4 separate regions of the Homo sapiens genome follow, and all the other regions are linked to region 2. Evidence: promoter capture Hi-C in 16 types of primary human blood cells and fetal thymus (Javierre and others, 2016). All regions are on one chromosome and are shown on one strand. Each heading gives the region's core, a stretch centred on a gene start or on the middle of the fragment in contact. The rest is flanking DNA. Distances are from core to core; before and after follow the strand shown. Region 1 overlaps TLK1 (tousled like kinase 1). Region 2 holds the start of CYBRD1 (cytochrome b reductase 1). Region 3 overlaps GORASP2 (golgi reassembly stacking protein 2). Region 4 overlaps LOC124906091 (a long non-coding RNA gene).

Evidence for each region. Contacts are between HindIII fragments. The CHiCAGO score rates a contact against its expected background, and 5 or more counts as called.
Region 1: a fragment that was not itself captured here is called in contact with the fragment with the promoter of CYBRD1 in region 2 in 1 of 17 cell types (erythroblasts); the score reaches 5.8 in erythroblasts.
Region 3: a contact is called between a fragment that was not itself captured here and the fragment with the promoter of CYBRD1 in region 2, in 2 of 17 cell types (erythroblasts and megakaryocytes). The highest score is 5.7, in erythroblasts.
Region 4: a fragment that was not itself captured here is called in contact with the fragment with the promoter of CYBRD1 in region 2 in 1 of 17 cell types (megakaryocytes); the score reaches 7.1 in megakaryocytes.

What each region holds. Positions count from the first base shown.
Region 1 is chr2:171,006,404-171,010,223 of GRCh38, reverse strand. TLK1 (tousled like kinase 1) reads left to right here. Exons shown (of 21, transcript NM_012290.5): 15 at 3,161-3,252; 16 at 3,335-3,424; 17 at 3,581-3,750. Among named protein-coding and RNA genes, the nearest start is that of GORASP2, 79 kb to the right of the region's middle. The HindIII fragment of the contact is 1,794 bases long and covers 396-2,189 here.
Region 2 is chr2:171,520,938-171,525,106 of GRCh38, reverse strand. CYBRD1 (cytochrome b reductase 1) reads right to left here and starts at 2,633. Exons shown (of 4, transcript NM_024843.4): 1 at 2,369-2,633. The coding sequence starts at 2,561. RefSeq lists silencers at 1,995-2,064, 2,215-2,324 and an enhancer at 2,435-2,544. The HindIII fragment of the contact is 3,994 bases long and covers 660-4,169 here.
Region 3 is chr2:170,947,767-170,951,673 of GRCh38, reverse strand. It overlaps GORASP2 (golgi reassembly stacking protein 2), which reads right to left. Exons shown (of 10, transcript NM_015530.5): 2 at 3,244-3,324; 3 at 1,932-2,135; 4 at 1,384-1,470; 5 at 216-346. Among named protein-coding and RNA genes, the nearest start is that of GORASP2, 20 kb to the right of the region's middle. The HindIII fragment of the contact is 3,518 bases long and covers 1-3,364 here.
Region 4 is chr2:170,968,285-170,971,983 of GRCh38, reverse strand. It overlaps LOC124906091 (a long non-coding RNA gene), which reads right to left. Exons shown (of 3, transcript XR_007087293.1): 1 at 2,521-3,699; 2 at 1,925-2,045. Among named protein-coding and RNA genes, the nearest start is that of GORASP2, 41 kb to the right of the region's middle. The HindIII fragment of the contact is 4,971 bases long and covers 1-3,699 here.

The DNA.
Region 1 (3,820 bases), core at 43-2,542, 510 kb after region 2:
CACATATTATAAGCCCCTAGTTCCTGCTATTATTAATGTCATTAAGTTCTCCTAAATTCAGCCATGACCCTTCCCTTCTGTCTCTTAGCTCAAGGCTTCTTCCGGAACCTCATAGCTGATTGTCTTCTTTTGGGCATTGCTTTTCTCAAGTCATTTTGTACACTGCAACTAGAGTGAACTTTTTATAAAAGGCAGCCTGATCATCTGTCCTACTTGAAAGCCCCAGTAGCTTCCCATTTGCTCTTGGGATGAAGTCCTAGTGAAGGGTTATATGCTCATCTTTAGTTCCTCTAAACAGCTTCCCTGACCCTCTGCATCTTCTCTGATAGATTTGGTGTGCCTTTTTATAAGCTCCTTTGTGCTTCATTACGTACTGGCATAGTTGGTTAAAAGCTTTGGTTCTGAAGCCAGACAGCTAGGTTTAAATCCTGACTGCTATTTACTAATTTTATTAATTTGGGCTTCTTATTTAAATCCCTGTCTGACTCATTGGCTCCTTCTGAGAATAATAACAATACCTACATTATAGGGTTGTTGCAGTGATTAACTGAGTTATCACATGTAAATCATATAGAACATAGGTGCTGAGATAAGCTGATAAGATTATTAGAAATCCTGCTTGTTGGCCATGGCTCACACCTGTAATCCTAGCACTTGGTGGGGCCAAGGCAGGCAGATTGCCTGAACTCAGGAGTTCAAGACCAGTCTGGGCAACATGGCGAACCCGTTTCTACTAAAAATACAAGAAAAAAATTAGCTAGGCATGATGGCACATGCCTGTAGTTCCAGCTACTCGGAGGCTGAGGCATGATAATCGCTTGAACCTTGGTGGTGGGAGGTTGCAGTGAGCCAAGATTGTGCTACTGCACTCCACCCTGGGGGACAGAGGGAGACATTTTCTCTCAAAAAAAAAAAAAAAAAAAAAAAAAAAAGGAAAAGAAATCCTGACTGTTGCATGGGACAAAGACTACACCCTTCTCGTTTCTGCTTCTGACTTGGAAAAATTATGGGATTTGAGTTAAGAGAACTTCAGTTCTGGTATCAGTTCAACCATGCACTATTTTTTGTTAACTTAGATAAGCATTACACGTCAGGGTCCTCACCTTCCTCATTCATCAAAAGTGATCTTTGGGCTCTCTTCCAATTCCTGTTTCTCTGATTCTAATAATAGTTTATCCTTAAGCACTTAATGGGTGAAGTAGGCTTACCATAAGGTAGAAAAGATTATCATGATAGTTCAGCTGGGATCTAAAAGTCACTAAAAGTGCAGTTAGCATTAGCGTGGCCTAAAAGTTGTTGAGCTTATGAACTTACCATGAGCCTTCATAACAACCCTCTGCTACTGCCTGGTTGTATTTTAAATAACTATTTTACCCTCATAGGTGAGGACTTTTGTAGAAGAGGCTTACATAGAGATTAGAAAGTGCAGATTGGGGCCCAGTGACTTGAACTTTCTATACTGACCTAAATACTAGTGACATCATTCTCTAAGCCCTTTAAAGCCCTTTCATGATTGCCAGTTCTGTTGGGAAACAACTAGACAAAAAGCAGATTGTAAGTCAAGAAGTAAAGAGTTGTATTTTATACCAGGATGGGAGATGTTGAGTCAGTTGCTGAGTGATTGCCATATTAACCTTATGGAAAGGTATACTTCTACTCACCTGAAATTTTGGGAGGAAGATGTGTTACATATAATTTATTATAATCAGTATACTCTGATAATAACTTTTTATTGCTTGCTTAGTTTTTTCTTCAATTATCCTTTACTATGATTGCCTTGAATTCTTTATAGATTTGTTCCGCCTTGTCCCTTATATAAACTTACTTTATTTTTATTCTTCTCAGTTTCTTTACACTTAACCCTTAATAATAATATGTAATTAGCTAATGTTTCTTGGCCGTACCATGTATTATTCTAAACACCTCATATGTTTTACCCCCATTTAATCCTCTCAATAACCCTAACTTTTGGGGCTCAGAGAGGGTATTAGCACAGAGTCACTCAGCTAATAAGCTAATCTGATTGCAAACAGAATATTCTTAACAACTGTGTGCTATATTATATCTGATCTCATACTTTTATAGTTTTGTACCAAAGTAGTCACTTTACTGCTTATCCCTTCCTGCTTATTTTTAGGTTAAATTGATGGGAGGAAATGGGGACCTTCTTTCTAATAAATACGTAAGCTTTTAAGTGAAAGGGGCACCTTTGTGTGTAAATCACAATGGAACCAAAATTATTAAATGTCTCTTTAATGGTATTCATTGCTTTTTAAAAAAACATAAGTCATGTAAAGCTGTTAAAATACTGATCATTCTGTGTTTTTAATTTAAGAAATAGGCTGGTGATTTGAACAAATCAAGTATAAATTCTTTTTGAGACAACCAGGGAAAATTGAAGACAGGTTAGGTATTAGATGAGATGAAGGAATTATTACTGATGTAGTTAGGTGTGATAATGGTATGTGGTTATTTTTATTTAAATACTGATGTGTTTACTGGGAGAAATAATGTATTTGTTTTAATAATACTCTGGTTGGGAAGGGTGGGATGCAAGGGTACTAGGGAATAGATGAAACAAGAATGGCAACATATTGGTAATTTTTGAAACTGGATGGTAGGGGCATAAGGGCACATTATAGTAGTCTACTTGTGTATATGTTTGAACAGTTTTATAATAACGAGTTTTTTTCAACAGTTGGAAAAATAACTGTTAGGAACTTTTTAATTTTTCTAAAAAGTGAGAAAGAAATAGGGGGTTGCTAGGAAAAGATAGATTTAAAAGGTTTTATCCAACCTACAAAAAAAGTGGTACAGTCATCTGTTTTCCTGGCTGCTTACTACTAGTATAGAGGAATAAGTCCATATTAAAAACAAATAATAGCTTTATTGTTTTATTTTTATTCAGTATATTGGCATTTATAAAATTTAATGTGAAAATTCACATTAAGGTTTTCTCTGATTTATTACCATGGAATTTCTGTCTTCTGATAATAAAAGTGTCATTGAGCTATATATAGTCTTAGCAGAGAAGATCATTAATAATTGTAGGGTTTGTCCTAATTCCATATTATTGCAAAAATTATCACCAAAATAAAAAACATCTCTTCAGCTATTCAATTGGTCTTTCATCTTAATTGTTTTTGACTTGAAATCCTAGGCTTTTGACCTTTATGAACAAAGATATGCTGCTGTGAAGATACATCAGCTTAATAAAAGCTGGAGAGATGAGAAGAAAGAAAACTACCACAAGTAAATACTAATACTTTATGGTTTTTTAAAATTGAATATTTTTTGAATGATCATGGAGAATTAATACACTGTCTTCTCATAGACATGCCTGCAGAGAGTATAGAATACACAAAGAACTGGATCACCCCAGAATAGTTAAACTCTATGATTATTTCTCCTTGGATACAGATACGTAAGTGAATATTAAGGTTCAATTTTTAAGGAAAGATATGCTTGCTTTCTCTTTCCCCATCCTGTGTTGATGATATAAATACTCTCCATTTCCCCATTGTGATTCTGAATTCTTGGATATTACTTATGTCTAATTTTTTTCTCTTCTCTGTTGTAGGTTTTGTACAGTGTTAGAATACTGTGAAGGCAATGACTTGGATTTCTATCTGAAGCAACACAAGTTAATGTCAGAGAAAGAAGCTCGGTCTATTGTAATGCAGATTGTAAATGCACTAAGATATCTCAATGAGATCAAACCCCCTATTATACATTATGATCTTAAGCCAGGTAATTATGAAATTTGTCTAATTTTTTTTAAACTTGAGTATAGTTTTTAAAAGTCATTCATTAAGTTATC
Region 2 (4,169 bases), core at 1,384-3,883:
AATTAGCTGGGCGTGGTGGTAGGCATCTGTAATCCCAGCTACTGGGGAGGCTGGGGCAGGAGAATTGCTTGAACCTGGGAGGTGGAGGTTGCAGTGAGCCAAGATTGCGCCACTGCACTCCAGCCTGGGCGACAGAGCAAGACTACGTCTTGAAAGAAAGAAAAAAAGAAACAAGATTTTCGTAAGAGCAGCAGATGAAAATTGCCAAAATTTACACATTTTTGTCCAAGAGTTAAGTATGAACAGATTAAGAGAAGTACAAAGTTTAGAGAAATTTAAAAACCTTTTAGAAAACCGTATATTGGACTCTAACATGAATGAAGAGTTTCAAAACATATTTTAGATGAAGGTTTTCGCTGTCTAAAAAGATTTGGCAGAAAATAAGCATATTGCCATAAAAGCAGAGAATCCAACTTTGACGATAAGGTCACTGAAAAGACTTAAAACAACTTTCATGGGTAAGTTACATAACTTCTCTGCCTCAGTTTACTCTTACATACATGTGATGTGACATAATGCACTTAGTGGACACACAGCATGCAATCACTATTAGCCATTCTGATGTCTTCTCCTCTGTGGCAAGTCAGGCAACGAGCAATAACACTTGTGTTTCCCTTACCCTCAATTATGAGAAGATATTCCAAGACCTCCAGAAAGCTTTTTGGTATTAGAAGCTGCTCTGAAGAGTTGGGTAGAAGAGGAGACTGGCTCTACTCTTTGAGCAAACAAGGTGTAGACAGCTCGGGGCCAAACTTAAGGGCTCCACCACGAAGGAAAGAGTGCTTCTGACAGTTACTTTGGAACTTGAGTATGTTTTTTTCTTATAAGCATAGTGGCAAAATAACTGAGAGTTACGCAACGAAATGCCTTAGGTGCCCAGTGGTGCTCACACCCTGATGCCGATCTCACACCCTGATGCCGATCTCACACCAGGGAAGCCTTTGAATGCTGAGGGTTAGTAACACCTTCCACTACATTCCAGAGTGGGAGAATGCTGGCCACACTTGCCAAAGCTGCAGTACAAGTTTAAAACAACCAACAAAAACAAAAGCCAAAATCACTTTTCTTTAGGAATGAGGTCAGCACTCTTTTGCACACTCGTTTGTGGGGAGTTAAATATTTGGTGAAGAAAAGGCAGCCTGCCCGCAGGCAAAGCTAGAGATTTCGGCCAGTGGGCATATCTTTCCAAACCCTTGCTACTCCTCTCGATTATTTTCTGCGACATAACACCACTCCACCCCTTGCTGCCTTTCTCTAACTACTTTCTGAAGGCCGTGCCTTTGGGGAAGTGGTTACAAATAAATGGTGTTTGCGCCAAAAGCTAGAGGTTCCTCCAGCTACACGGCAAACCGAAGGAAGCAGTCAGGACATTGAGAGGCACTACACAATGACAACAAACATTGCCAGCGACTGCTGAGCCCCTCCCCCGCGCCAGCCTCAGCCCAGAGAATGCAGGCCCGGGGCTGGCTCGCCGCGGGCCAAACACGGACGCAGCTTGCGCCGGGGGCATCCCGAGCAGAGGCATCCCTCGGTGCCAGGCAGCCGCGGGCCCTCTCCGGGCATCTCCCACCCGGAGTGCTGGGCCAGTGCCCAATAGGAAGCCCCGCGGGGGAACTTTCGCCACTCTTCTGCCACATAAACAAGTCGGGCTCAAGACCGTCCAATGACTGGGCAGGGCGGCGAAACACACTTGGAAGTCCTGGCAGCTTCCCGGACTCGACTGAGTTTAACACTCTAGGAGGAGAGGAACCCAGGGCGGATGCTTCACTCGCCCCCCTTGGCCAGCCCCTTTACCCAGGGCCGAGGATGTTACAAATACGGGCAAATTCTCGCTCCGGCAATCTTTTCCCCGCTGCCTTCCCCTCCTCATCTGCAGCCTGGAAGCAAGTTCAGCAAAAGGCTGAGGCGAAAGTGTTTCCGCGCCCCCGATCGCGCAGGCTCGGTCCACAGGGGCGACTTTCCGGGGCGCGTGGGCTGCAGCGGCCCGACTGCGCGGCGCTCCGGCATCGCGCCCGGGCTCAAGTTTCTGGGTCTTGGAGGCCCCTCCAGTGCGTCCTAGCCAGTCGCCGCAAAGAGTTAACCAAGTGGGGCCGGCCCCGCTCCGCCGCCCCCAGCAGCGCGTCTCCACCGCGCACCCCCGGCCCCGCGCTCGCGGCGATCCTCCTGAACCGCAGCTCTGTCCCGCCCCAGAGCCAGCCAGCCTCCCTCCCGCCCAGCCGACTTGGCTTCCCGCGCGCTCCTCACCGCACTCCTCCGGGCCCCGCGATCCTCCAGCACTTCCTCAGCTGGAAGGGGCTTCACGGAGGACCCTCTGCCCCCGCCGTTCTCCCCGCTTTCCTCCCCGCACCCCCCCAGGAGGTGCCAGTACCGATGCCCTGGATGAAGACGAAGCCGGTGACCATGAGCACTGGGTGCCAGTTAAACTCTAGTGCGCTCCCATCCCAGCCAAGCCCCTCTCGGTAGTGGAGGACCCAGACGAGGGCGAAGATCACCGACAGGAAGCCGACGAGCAGTGCCGACCCCAGCAGCGCCAGGAAGCGCCAGTAGCCCTCCATGGCCATCAGCGCCCCATACTCCGCACCGCGGGGGCCACAAGAACTTGGAGAGGCGGCGGCAGCCCTCTGGGTAGTGGCCGGGCGGCGGGACCGGGGCGTCGACTTCTTGGGGCTGTCTCCGCCTGCGGGGAGGGACTTTCTGGGCTGCTGGCCCGGAATGTGGGGCCTCTTGGGGGTGGGGAGCTGGCCCCAACTCAGAAATGGGCCCCACCCCCGGGATCACGCGGCCGCCGAGGGCGCTCATTGCCTGGTGGCCTCACCCTCTCCCTCGTCCAGCATCCAAGCTCGCAGAGGGCTTCAGTAACAGACCTAGTTAGTTGCTCAAAGAGAAAATTCCGAGGATTTTATACTCACCACTTGCTTTTAACACTTCCCGTGTCTCGTCCTTATTTGTGGGGAGGTTGAGTAGGGCAGTGGTGCGCCCTCTTGGTTAAGAGAAGAGAGGGATCCGTTGGGTAGGGTTATGTGTGTGCTTTTAACTACTAACGAAGCCTCCTTAGCCACAGTGCTGGAGAATTGGCTGTCTCTGACATCAAAGGGTGTTAAGGAGGAACCTGTAAGGTGGTGTAAACTAAAAATAAAATCCTAAGCCCCTCACTGACTGAATGGACCTCCTTGGCCAAGCAGACCCCAGAAAAACCTTAAAGCTGAGTTTCTAGCTACAGCCGGAAGGGAAGTCTACCCCCTCCATTTTGGAATTTAGACTCAACAGCTGACTAGCATTAATGTTTAAAATAGAAATCATAAGGCGGACAGAACAGACTCTTTGTAGCAATAAGACATCAAATTATAAAAAGGACCTAAGTCACACACTCCTACACTTAAGAAATAAACTATGGTCTAACTGCCACAAAGGTTTTCTTTTCCTCTAGAGGCTAAACAAGCACTGGCTTGAGATAAGCAATATTAAAACAATTACAACTTAATCAGTTCACAGATGCTGACCAGCTGAACCCCTGTTGCACCAGCCAGAACTACAGCTTTCACTGGGCTGATTTCAGGAACTTTTTCATGATAAGAAGACCGACCATGGACCGGTTCTGGCCAGTGTACAGGGATTGTGCACTTGTATGCATTCACGTCCTGAAAAGACCTTTTGAAGTGTAGGTTTGAAGTAATACATTTAAATGTATTTGAAGTAATACAATTAAATGTTAAGTCTCCACCCCAAAGAGAACATGTTACATGCATGTTTGTTCAATATGCATGTGTAAGGACCACCTCCATTAATATTCATAGCTCCTCCTGTAACCTGTTACGTATGTATGTTTGGCCAAACTGTTCAGCATAAAGCTCCTACCCCAACCCCTCTGCCTTCCAAGTGCCTGTCTCTGGTCTTAGGCCAGAGGCTATGTTTATCAGCCTATGGAATGGCCTCCTTGCAGGCTATAACCTTTTATAAGAAATAAAGTCTCCTCTTTTTTCAAATTTATAATTTTTTGTTTTAAGTTAACAGTAAAGGCCAGGCGCAGTGCCTCACACCTGTAATCTTAGCACTTTGGGAGGCTAAGGCGGGCAGATCACTTGAGTCCAGGAGTTTGAGAACAGCCTGGGCAACAAGGTGAAACCCTGTCTCTACTGAAAATACAAATGCATGCACCTGTAGCCCCAGCT
Region 3 (3,907 bases), core at 356-2,855, 570 kb after region 2:
TAGTAAAGAAAAGGACTATAGTATATATACTATGTTCCCTAGATATGTACTTTAAAAAAATTGGTTTCAATATTCTAGACTAGCTCTTCCCTTTTTTTTAAGAGGAGTCTTAAAATAAACCAGTAATTTCTTTCAAAATAAAAACAATCAATGTCTGCAACATATCTGACTGGTATGTTTAAGCAGTCATAACTTAGTCTAAAAAATGACCTTACCTGCCTTCTCCACCCCATGCAGAATTTGGTGTAATAATCACTTCTCGACAGTTATCAGTGTCTGTGTTGTACACATACAGTTTCAATGGTTTTGCTTCATGTGTTTCGATAAGGCTGAATAGATCTTCAGACTGCAAAAGTGTCACAGGAGAAAATGTTTCACGTTACCATACTTTGGAACAGTGTGTCTCAAACCTGGCTATCAGAATCACCTGAGAAATCTAAGAAAAAAATACAGATTCTGGGCCCTGCCCCAGACATAAAAATCACAAGCAGGTTTAATTCAATATATTAATTCAAGCAAAGCCTACTTACTACATACAAGGCTTTATGGCCAGTTCCTTAAGATCTAGTTGGCACTCTTAGTACAATTCTTTTACACCCGAGTTCTACATATTCTGCTTTTACTTCCCATTATTAAGACCTGGTTGTCTGGGCACCTCATTTCTCACTCTTTTTTTTTTCTTCTTTTTTTGAGACAGGGTCTCTCTAACTGTTGCCTGGGCTAGAGTGCAGTGGCATGATTTTGCCTCACTGCAGCCTCAACCTCTCAGGCTCAAGTGATCCTTCCACCTCAGCCTCCCAGGTAGCTGGGACTATAGGCATGCACCACCATGCCTGGCTAATTTTTGTATTTGTTGTAGAGACAAGGTCTCACTATGCTGCCCAGACTGGTCTCGAACTCCTGAGCTCAAGTAATTCTCCCATCTCGGCCTCCCAAAGTGCTGAGATTATGGGCATGAGCCACTGTGCCCAGCCTTTTCTCTCATTTTTGATTTAGCAATGTATACTTCCGCTAGCTAAGAGACAAGGAAAAGGATGTAATATAGCTGAGCTAATGCTGTCACTGAACAAAAAGGGGAAGAGAAAATGAAATCAATGAACAATTGAAAATGAGAATTTGATTTAGACTTCAGGTATGCAAAGATTTCTGTATATTACACATAAAATCTGTGCAATTGCCGCACAGTATGTGTTTTTCCTCACAGCTATACCTAATAAGACACCTACCAGATGTTCCATTTAACACCCTGAGGCTTAAGTTATTTTTGATCAGCAAAGACTGAAATTTTAACTCTAAATGCAAAGCATGCAAATATCTTTCTCAACTCAAACCTCAATGAGAAAATTTTATATAGTTCTCACTATGAATAAACACACGAATTACCTCATTCATGACTGTATCTGCTCCAATTATATAATCACTGTGTGGTCTAAGACCTGCCAGTGCTGCAGGAGAATTTGATTCCACCTCCTAGAATGACATAAACACACACCCTAAAATTAATATATATAAAATAATCTTCCAAGGTTTATAGTCCAATTTTTAATTATGTTGATTTTTTAAATCTGTATACTTCTGTCTTGCTAGAGATGTGTCAGATGTCAGAAACTACAGAATATATTTTAAACTTCTGAGCATAAAAATTACATAATATTTAACAAATATTTAAAATATTTTTGTAGCTATCTACTCTAACACATCTTATAATGAATAAATCATTAGAAAAAGTTCTTAAACTTGTACATTTGCTTCTCTTCCTCAACTTAAAAAAAAATTGATCCATACTTAAAAAGCAATGAACGCTGATTTTTGGCAAAAATTGCCTATTAATAATATCCTTACAATCTTATTAAGCCAGAAACAACCATTGTTAAAACATCTTTCCACACTGCTTCATGAACCTCCAGTAACAGTTCACAGTTGATACGTACCAGCACATGCCAAACATTTTCATTTGCCCCATCAAAGCTGCAGAAACGAATGCTCACTCCCAATAAGCCCTGGCCGCCCCACAGGTTACTTGGTGTGACTGAGGTCTCTCGCAGTTCCAATGTTTTGCTGCTATAGATAAGCATCTTTACAGGCTTTTCAACGTTTGCTTTCAGCAGATCCTTAAGAGTGTCATTGTCTTTATTCTGTGAACACATAGAAATCACATTCCTTAGTAAATAAAAATTTAATGTTAGCTTAAGCATCCTATGGCCCTATAAGAGTAATATTAATAATCAACATAAATAAAACATTCAACAAAGGTTTCACCAACATTTAAATTTTCTTCTATGTAAAAGAATGTCAAGAAATTAAGAACTCTTACGTTAGCAACAACTTGAAACTGACTTTTTTCTAATAGCTCATTATGGATTATGGAATTTGCAACCCAACATTATTTAGAATGATCTAGGGCTTCAATGTGTAAAAACAAAATATGCCATAAGAAGTCACATTACTAACGAAGTTGTGATGACTTTGATTATAAAAATCTAAAACATTTACTGGGGTTAACGTTTAATTTTGGACTCTATTTCTAAATACATGCTTTATTAAGAGCTGGATAGAAAAGAAAGTAGAAACAGCATATTAAATATTTCATTTCATAAACAAATAAAGGCCAGATGTTGGCCTTTATTTATATGTCAGAGATGTTGTAAGTAATGAACGAAAACTTAAGACTGTTACGAAAAATTAAACCAACCAAGTGGCTACTGTCCTAAGAATTTGCTGAGATTATATAATTTCTTTATCTTAGAACTTTATTATGGGTAAACTCTAAACAAGGTATAAAAAGTGGTTTTAATTTGGTACTTTGGAGCACATCTCTCTGTCTGGTTCTAATAACATTATTCATATATTGTGAAACTTAGCACCAAGAAAACTGACGAGTTTGAGAGAATGAGATGAGAGAATGAATCTTTCTAGTAATCCATTTGTCAACAACCAACAGAAGTCTGACATCTTTAAAAAGCAATCTTTTACATCTTAATTATTTCTTTCTGCTTATAAAAATTAAATATTTAACATATAAAAGACTCCACTGATTCTAGAGACTTCCCTAAGATAATCAGTGGAGCATAAGGTATAATATTATAGATATTTCAATGTTTATTAATACATGATTATTTCTATAAATTGGCATACTACACATAATGATTGTAACTAATAAATACCCATCTCAGGTCATCTGAAAAATTCCATTTTTGAGAGATTACAAATACTATAGACAAAACTACAGAAAGTTGAACTTACTAATCTTGAACCATTAATAGAAACAATAAAATCAAAGAAAGGCTCCAAACCAGCTCTGTGTCCTGGGGAATTTTCTTGTACCTGCGGAAACAAAAACGACAAAAATAAAAAATGTAAAGCTTAGGTGAAAATTGTAAGCCGAATCTCTCTTTTCAGTAAAAATAGACCAATTTCACTGATAATGAAATACAGTACACGCTAGTTCTCTCATTTCTCTTCATCTCTCCCAGATAATGCCCGTCCAGCTCCCTAAACTCTACCCATTCTTTAAGTTAATCTTCTATTTATATTTTTATTTTATTTCTTTGAGACAGACTCCACCTCTGTTGCCCAGGCTGGAATGCAGTGGCACAATCTCGGTTCACTGCAACCTCTGCCTCCCTGATTCAAGCGATTCTTGTGCCTCAGCCTCCCGAGTACCTGGGAGGACTATAGGTGCGTACCACCATGTCCAACTAATTTTTGTATTTTTTGTAGAGACAGGGTTTCGCCTTATTGCCCAGGCTGGTCCTGAACTCCTGGGCTCAAGGGATCCACCTGCCTCAACCTCCCAAAGTGCTGGGATTACAGGTGTGAGCCACTGCACCGGGCCTAGTTCATCTTCTATATGAGGTTTTCCCTCTGTGGTTCTATTTCTGCACCACTTTCTCCTTTTTTGGGAGAA
Region 4 (3,699 bases), core at 790-3,289, 550 kb after region 2:
TAAAAAGTAATTCAGGCCGGGTGCGGTGGCTCACGCCTGTAACCCCAGCACTTTGGGAGGCCAAAGCGGATGGATCACGAGGTCAGGAGATCGGGACCATCCTGGCTCACACGATGAAACCCCCGTCTCTACTAAAAATACAAAAAATTAGACGGGCGTGGTGGCGGGCGCCTGTAGTCCCAGCTACTTGGGAGGCTGAGGCAGGAGAATGGCGTCAAGCCAGCAGGCAGCGCTTGCAGTGAGCAGAGATAGTGCCACTGTACTCCAGCCTGGGCGACAGAGCGAGACTCCGTCTCAAAAAAAACACAAACAAACAAACAAAAAAAAGCAATTCGAAGCCTGGCGCGGTGGCTCACGCCTGTAATGCCAGCACTTTGGGAGGCCGAGGCAGGTGAATCACCTGAGGTCAGGGGTTCAAGACCAGCTTGACCAGCATGGTGAAACCCCATCTCTACTAAAAATACAAAAATGAGCCGGGCGTGGTGGCACATGCCTGTAAGCCCAGCTACTCAGGAGGCTGAGACAGGAGAATTGCTTGAACCTGGGAGGTTGCAGTGAGCCGAGATTGCGCCACTCCACTCCAGCCTGGGTGACAGAGCAAGACTCCATCTCAAAAAAAAAAAAAAGTAAAATAAAATAATAAAAAGTAATTGTGGTTTTAAAAATTCTGGCAATATGCAAGTTTATGAGAAGAAATGAGAAGTTCCTGTAACCCCACCCCCAGCCACCATAATTCAAGTGCTTCTGGAAGAGGCTTGCCCTGAACCTCAGGCAGACTTCTTAGTATGGGTCTCAAACCAGGCCAGCCTGGGCAGAGCTGGGCAAACAGGCCCCTCCCCAGGAAGCAAGGCCATGGAGAGTGGACGGCAAGAAAGCCAGTCAGGGATTCATGAACTCTTATTCACAACCCTTGGTCTCTGGAAAAGAGAATGATCAATTCCAATAGAGTTGGTTGTTAAGGTAAATGATCAATGGGTTGGGGACCCAGAATATGGCTTTAGGAAAAGAGACTAGTGAAACTCAAATTGCTGTTACTGTCCCAGTCATTGTCCAGGGACATTTTCTCCATCAGGTTTACAGTCTAAGCAACTACTTCAAATTTTGCTAACCTTAGTGCCCATTCCACACGATTCATTGGATCCTAAATAATGAAATCCGTGAAGGACCTTGTTTCCTAATCCTGGGTCCCCACGGGTTCTGGCCCCGCTGACTGTAAGGAAACCTCAGTTTCCCAGCTATCCCTCCCCTCTCCCCAGACTCAGCTGTGTTACTACCAGGATAACACAGGGCTCTGCAAACTCAGACACCTGCGGGTGGTGGGAGGGGGGCTGGCGCACGCAGGTGGGGCTGTGGGAATTGGAGACTGGAGGACAGAGACTCCAAGGGGCATTCATTTCCCTGTAGGACTGATCTGTTGCCAGATCTTGTGACTTTGAGAAACCAGAAATCTGGATTTATGTGAAACCTTCTGATTTTTAAATGTTGGCAATTAATTCACATTTTAATATATACAGGGGAGTTCAAAGGAAACATGCCTAGGGGGAACCTGTTTGCTTCCTCTCGTCTGCTGGGCAGAGCACTGTCTTATCTCATTATTCACCCCATGTACAGGAAACACTTAATACATGCTGGCTACTGTTATTATCCCAAACCCCAGCGGCCTTCATGGAGCATGGGCTTGTATCTATTTCTTGCCAGGAAATACAGTGTAACCTCAACTCTGGTAACACTGAAAGTCCGAGGCCCACCTCCATCAATGGCTGCAGTGTGGCGTTTTCTCTAAACTGTCAGTGACCAGAGTACCCACGTTCGTGTAACTCCCTGGAGAGGCAGTGGGGCGGCATCTGCACCTGTCTGCACTCCTTACTCCTCTGCTCTTTTGCTGCACATTCTCACTCTCCTCACCCCTCCCCATCCCCCTCACCTGCAGCCCCCAGCTGGGAGTGGGGCCCACTTGCCCTTCCACGTCTTCTTGTTCTAGTGCTTGAATAACTGGCTGTGGCATTAATTCCCCATTTTATCAATTGGCTCGATATGCAAAAGGCCTATAAAGGAACACTTTGGTTAGCCAAGTCGGAAATTGTTCTTCCTAGATCTAATGCAAATATATATATATATATATATATATATATATATATATATATAAATGACAAAAGGATCCCTCCTCTAACCTGTGCACTTTGCTTAGTGGTAAAAGTAAACACCTAGCAAGAACGATGACCTTCCTATGCCCCTGTTACCTCCCGCAGTTACAGGTCCACCCTCCCTGGGGAAGTTTTTAAAAACTCCAAGAGCCCAGGAATTAATATTCTAATTGAGGCGATTCTAATCTGAAGACAGGGTTGAAACCTTGCTGGGTAGTCAGATAATTAAAGAAGACCTTCATCTTCAGGGTCACAGGGAGAAGACCCAACCTTCCTTCACAAGTTACTGATAAAATCGGGCCACTCTCTGGAAGAAAAAACTTTTCACAAATAAATCCTTTAAATAAGATGTATTAAATTTTCTAATAAAATGCACCTGTAGCCAACTGCTGCTGGAGGCTTTAACACCCATGGCTTTCCTACTGTGAGCTCCCTTAGGGCTCCTGCTTGGATTTTTTTAACTCCTTCTCCACCTGCTAAAATGTAGGTCTGGCTAAGCCTTCTTCAGGTGCCAGAGAATGTTCCCTTCACCCAGACTCTCCAGGTCTCTGCTCAGCTGAGACTCTTCACTTGCTGCAGTTTGCATGAAGTTGCCTCATGTTCCCGCCTAAACCACAGGTTCCTTAAAGGTGGGATCAGGGCTTCCATGTCACTACCGTAGCTCCAGCAGCTCACCAGTCTCATCTTCACTATAGTCAAAAGCAGAAATTTTGGACATCCAAGGCAGAGCCATCTTTGAGCTTTAGTAGGTGCCTTTCAGGTGAGGAAGAGGCCACAAGGCCATTTCTAGGTCTCCAGAATTTTCAGAAAATGAGCTAAGTTAAGCTGCTCCCAGGTAAGCACAATTAGTAATGGACTAAAAATAAAACAGGAACAAAAATCAGAGGGGAAAAGGTAAAGTCACTGATATGGTTTGGCTGTGTCCCACCCAAATCTCTTCCTGTAGTTCCCATAATCCCCACGTGTGGAGGAAGGGATCCGGTGGGAAGTGATTGGAGTATGGAGGTGGTTTCCCCACTGCTGTTCTCGTGAGAGTGAGTTCTCACGAGATCTGATGGTTTCCTAAGCCTCTGGCATTTCCCCTGCTTGCGCTTCTCTTCTGCTGCCATGATTGTAAGTTTCCTGAGGCCTGCCCAGCCACGTGAAACTGTCAATTAAACCTCTTTCCTTTATAAAATTACCCAGTCTTGGGTATTTCTTTATAGCAGTGTCAGAACAGAGTAACACAGTCGTCATCCTAGACTCAGAGTCTTAGCAAAGGGGGTTCAGGTGAGCGTCCCTCCTGAAGCTGGTCCCCCACTGTGCTGCCCCTCCAGCCTTCATGACTGCCGTATTTAAGCCAAAGCTCAAACTCCCTAGTCCAGCACACAGGCCCCAGCCCCATGCACACAAACACTCAAGACTTTTCCTAACCTTGCATGGTTTCCTCACAGTTCACTGCAGCCTTGACTTCCTGCGCTCAAGGGATCCTCCCACCTCAGCCTCCTGAGTAGCTGGGACTCCAGGCACGTGCCACCACGCCCAGCTAATTTTTAAATTTTTTGTAGAGACAGGG